Regions from separate parts of the Homo sapiens genome. Here region 2 is linked to region 1. The links are contacts of gene promoters, found by promoter capture Hi-C in blood cells and fetal thymus (Javierre and others, 2016). All regions are on one chromosome and are shown on one strand. Each heading gives the region's core, a stretch centred on a gene start or on the middle of the fragment in contact. The rest is flanking DNA. Distances are from core to core; before and after follow the strand shown.

Region 1 (2,666 bases), core at 124-2,623:
ACTAACTATGTGATCTCAGGCAAGACAGCTTATTTATGCCACAACTGAGACCACAGTAAGGATAATAATAGTATCTACCTTGTGGATTATATGAGGACTGAATGAATTAACACACATAATGTTCTTAGAATAGCGGCTGGCACATGGTGAATAAATGTTAGCTCTTATTATAATATGTGGTAAACTGAGGAACTATCACTAGTTTTACTTGGATGAAGTACTGCATGAAATTTTTGTATTTTTATTGAGTTTCATCAATTTTTTTACTGAACCTAGTATGCTTTCTCGTCTGAACACACAAGGAAGAAAAGAAGGATGGCTCCTGTACGTGAAAGTGACCCCTGCATATAGTGCCTGAAATCAGAGGAAGCTTGTCAGTGTGGGCAGACACCACGAGCAGACCAATTTGACATTGTGCTTCTCTTTTAACCTCTTGAAAATTAATGAAAGTTATCTGATGAAGATCCTTACATTAATTGCTCCCGATTAAGGTTTAAAACCTTGGTTTACTGTGGGGTAAATTTATGTTTTTGATAGTCATCCAAAATCTTTGTACGCTTTCAGTTTCATTACAGAATAAAAAACAAATTTACCACAATGGATTATTACATTACATCTGGTATTTATTCCTCCCAAGAAGCTATCTGCTTCGGAAAAGCCAGGGGCGCCCTTCATTAATATATCTAACTGATGGTGTAATGACATAAAATTCCTTGTTGACCCCTGCTATTCAGTGTTATTGTCTTGGAACATAGAACTTGATAATCTCTTTTCACTGCATAACTACAAATGTTAGGCTGTAAGAGTATTTTACTTTGTTCAGTGCAGGTTCCAGACATTTCTCCTGATCACCAGAAGTTCTTTTGATTAATAAGGCTACTGGTCACGAAAACTCAGCTTACTAAAAGAGATCCAGTCTTCTGGTTCTAACTAAAACATCCCACCGGATGCAGGTGTACTTGCAAATTAAAGTTTGCCTCATGTGTCCTGTGTCTCAAGTCATACAGACGGCCCAGGAGGGTGGAGCCCCTGCAACCTGCCTAGCGGGGCGTTTGCGTGTCTGGGGGTGTCGGGACACGCGCAGGACACACACAGTCCCACTTTCCTAGTCTCGCACTTACCTCAAGGCTGTCAACTTTTACGCTCCTCCCTGCGCGCACAGCCCCCACCTCACGCTGCCACCCCTCACGCCCCGCCTTCAAAGTAGGAGGCACCATTGTCATTGGACACTGCTTCTCTCACTCCTATTCCAGAACCAATCACTCGAGTTCTAGTGGGGAGCGCCTAAGCCAATGGAAATGCTCGCTGCGGCAGCTGCCGGGTCCTGGGCGCTGGGAGGCGGTGCCGGGGGCGGGGTGCGGCTGGGGCGAATTAGTTGCCATTCGGAGTGAGGAGTGGGTAGAAGCGGCGGCGGCGGCGGCGGCGTTTGCGGTGGCGCGGACTCCGAGGAGCGCCAGCACCTCGAGGCCCTTTCTCTCTACCCTGGTCCCCAGAAGCAGGGGTCCCGGCCCTCCTTGCAGCTGCCGGGTTCTCCCGTGCGTGCAGCCCTGCGAGGGCTGAGGAGAAGGCTGCGAGCGGCCCTCGGGGCTGCGTGATCCGGGCCGTTGCCCTGTCAGCACGATGCCTGGAGCGGTGGCGGCGGCGGCTCCGGGCTCCTTGCGGCCCCGGCCGTGACCGCCACACCGAGCCCAGCCGGGCGGTTGCGGCCGTTGGACGTTTGTTTTCGCAGCCTTCCCCTCCCCCCTCGCCGAGGCGGCGGGGGTGTGCGTTGGGGAGGGGGAGCCCCGAGACTCCTCCCCCACAGCGATACCCCCGCCCCTCCCCCTTACACACTCGCACGCACTATCGCGCCGGCTCCCACACGCTCGCGCGCCTCCCGCCCCGCGCCTCCGTGTCGGCCGGCGGCGTCCAGGGCCCGCAGAGCCACCATGTCCACTGCCTCCTCCTCCTCCTCCTCCAGTTCCTCTCAGACCCCTCATCCCCCGTCGCAGAGGATGAGGCGCAGCGCCGCGGGGTCCCCGCCCGCCGTCGCCGCCGCCGGGAGCGGGAACGGTGCGGGCGGCGGCGGCGGCGTGGGCTGCGCCCCGGCTGCGGGAGCCGGCCGGCTGCTGCAGCCCATCCGCGCCACGGTGCCCTACCAGCTCTTGCGGGGCAGCCAGCACAGTCCCACGCGTCCGCCCGTCGCCGCTGCCGCCGCCTCGCTGGGCAGCCTCCCGGGGCCCGGCGCGGCCCGCGGCCCCAGCCCGTCCAGCCCGACGCCGCCGGCGGCCGCAGCCCCGGCCGAGCAGGCGCCGCGGGCCAAGGGCCGCCCGAGACGGTCCCCAGAGAGCCACCGGAGGAGCAGCTCACCTGAGAGACGGAGCCCCGGCTCGCCCGTGTGCAGAGGTAGCGAGCCCAACCCTCCCGTCCTCCCGGGCTGCGTCTCCCCGACGGTGCCCTCCGTGGAAACTTCAGCCTCTTCGGGCTTCTCTTTGCTAGTGCATTATCGAAGGTGTGAAAGTGGCTTTGGGAATCTCACCCCCCTGCGGTCGCTGTGGGGCTTGGAGGAGCGAACTGAAAAGCGACTTTTATTTGACCCTCATGCCGCCCCTCAGAGTCTCTCTTCCATCACTCGCCTGCTTCGAGAGGTTTTTCAGTTTAAGAGCTGGCTAGCTCATTCGTGTGTT
Region 2 (2,666 bases), core at 82-2,581, 4.7 Mb after region 1:
TTCTGTGTTCCCCTAAAAATTTAAAAACACTATAACACTCCTGTGGGTTCACGGTATCATGATTGGGAACCACGGTCCTAGCAGCATTAAGAGTGTGTGTGTATTGTAGGGGAGAAAAAATAGTTTTACTCTACTTATTTTAGGTTCAGTGCTCGAGACCCCTGTATCAAACGAAAGACTAACAAGCAAAAAGCATACACATTTATTTAATATCAGTTTTCCGTGACAAGGGAACCTTCAGAAGGAAATGAAAACTCAATAAACAGTTTTAAACTTGAGTGTTTTTCCATAGTAGGTTTGATGAAGAGTGGAAAGTCATGGAGAAATATGATAGGACAAAGGGGATATGAGCTACATGTAATGAGCTGGGAGAAACTTGTCAAGGCTTATTTGTTCAGATTACTCTCTGTGACTCTGTGTCCTTGGAGATAAGGATATTCCTTTCCTCCAGGAATAGGGAAGCACCTCTCACATAAGGATCTTATGCACTGCTTCAAGGGAAGGTCAGAACATGCTTCCTAGGTTTTATGATCTGCTTCAGGGGAGAAGGGAGGCGGAACTTCACAGAGACCTTCCTGCTTATGCTATTTTCTCAAATTCCTTCAGCTTAAAATATTCAATATGCCAAGGTGCCATATTTTGGGGTAGTGTGTCCTGATGTGTGTGTCTCTCTCTCCTGAACTCTCTTATCTATCCATCCAGCCATCCTTCCACATCCACACACACACACACATATAAATCAGTCTCCTGCATTTTTATTTGCTAAGTAAAATTACATTCTGTTGTAATTTTCTCCTTGCACTTACCATGACTTGATATTTTCTTGTTTACTTAGTTGTTTATGTGTTTAATGTTTGTCTTCCTTCACTGGGCTATGGGGTCCAAGAGAGTAGGAAAGTTTTCTGCCTTGTTCCCCACTGTATTCCTAGAACCTAAAACACTGCCTAGTGTATACTACATATTCAGTACACACTGTTTGGGTGAATACACATCTTCCAAAGACAAATGTTCATTCTCAAGGACAGTACATTGTAGATAGAAATATTCTCTAACTCCCATATACTTTGTAAGAAACTTCACCTTTCTTGGAGTTCTATTATCACATAATTATAGACAGTGCAGTTTATCTTTTACTGCTCCCAATTGTGCCCTTCAGAACATTTAGAAAAGGAGTCATGTAATCTAGTTATACAAAGAAAAGCTTTGAAATAAATCGCTGTCCAACAAAAACCACACACACAAACACACATACACAAAACCCACTCTATTACATTTAGTAATCTTGGTGAAGGGAAGGGAAGTCATATATTTTACCAATTATAGGTATTTTAACCTTTTGTTTTCAAAACTATAATAAAAATATTCAATAGTGTATTGAATTTTAATTTGCAGGAGACTATCAACATATTAGGTTGCTTTGGGGTTAACTTTATAAATTTTTTTTCGCAAAAATCTCACAATAAAGCTTCTGCTAACTGTCCATGCATATTTTGAACTTTTTTGGAAATGTATTATATGTAATTTAATGAATTAAATTTTAAAAATGTGTTCTTAAGTTACTGGACTTTTTAGTAGTTTCAGGAAAGGTAAATCAATATAGTGTTTCTGGTTTATCCTAGTGAATGATTTTTTTTTCTGAATATGTGTTTCCTTGGAATTTAAGTTCCACAGATCATTGATATGTATAGTCTTTTTCACAAGAAGTTTACACATTTTTTTGGTGATGGTGGCTAAGTGGTCTTTAGGCAAAATGATCTGATGAAATTAAAATTGAGCAATTAGGAGGGGAATCTATTCAATATGGACTGATTATGAAAAATTCAGACCCCTTTTTCTTAATTTTCAGGGATCAGAGGGTTTTAAATTATATAAGTTTCTAAACATGTATTCTGTTTATTGAGATGAAGCCTAAATTGGTGGTGGCAGTGGGGGCTGTGTGTGAATAGAAACAGAAAAAGCCTACCATTGACGCCTTTGATAGATTTTAACTGTCCAATTAATTTGCGTACATGAAATGTGTAACATACCAATATTTTGCTCCCGGCACACAGATCTCCAGTGGACATCGACAATCAAAGCTTCTATGATTATTTCACAATATTCAGCAATCCACCCAATGCTAACTGGGATGTTTGATTTTGCAGCCTCTTTCAGAGCAGTTGCTAAAAGTGGCTCCACATCATAAGAGGGCTTCCCTCCCTCAATCCATGAGAGCAACTAGGTTTTGCATCAGTGAAAGGAAGAAAAAGCAGGAGTTTGGCAAGAGGCTGCAAAGAGACGGCACTGGGCTCCACTAGAGTTCCTTCCCACCGCGTTTCTCATCCTGTCTTCTGCCTAGTGGATATGTCTGCGTGGGCGTGCACACACATTGGCTGATGAAACCCCCTTCCTGTTGCACAGGGTCAGAACTAAGCGAGGTGGGTGTAGCTTTGGAGGGTTCTGAAATCTAAGAACCAGCTTCCTTTCCCACCGCTTTCCGCTGAGTCAGTTCACTGCAGAGTGCTCTGCAGGATCTGGAGGCCTTTGTGTTCAGATTATTTTACTAGCTACAAAAGCCACACCCTTGTGCTACACAAACAGAACACTTTGTCCTTCCAGGAGGTCCGTAGTTTGACCACAGTTCTGGGATTTCAAAGCTGCCTCACAGAGGCTTGCCTATTGTAATG

What was found. Contacts are between HindIII fragments. The CHiCAGO score rates a contact against its expected background, and 5 or more counts as called.
Region 2: a fragment that was not itself captured here is called in contact with the fragment with the promoter of GLCCI1 in region 1 in 1 of 17 cell types (erythroblasts); the score reaches 5.2 in erythroblasts.

The regions. Positions count from the first base shown.
Region 1 is chr7:7,967,423-7,970,088 of GRCh38, forward strand. GLCCI1 (glucocorticoid induced 1) reads left to right here and starts at 1,374. Exons shown (of 8, transcript NM_138426.4): 1 at 1,374-2,385. The coding sequence starts at 1,929. GLCCI1-DT (GLCCI1 divergent transcript) reads right to left here and starts at 1,330. Exons shown (of 5, transcript NR_110018.1): 1 at 1,122-1,330. RefSeq lists silencers at 1,197-1,346, 1,557-1,956, 2,037-2,096, 2,187-2,266. The HindIII fragment of the contact is 4,760 bases long and covers 369-2,666 here.
Region 2 is chr7:12,713,358-12,716,023 of GRCh38, forward strand. No RefSeq gene overlaps it. Among named protein-coding and RNA genes, the nearest start is that of ARL4A, 27 kb to the left of the region's middle. RefSeq lists an enhancer at 2,237-2,666. The HindIII fragment of the contact is 264 bases long and covers 1,200-1,463 here.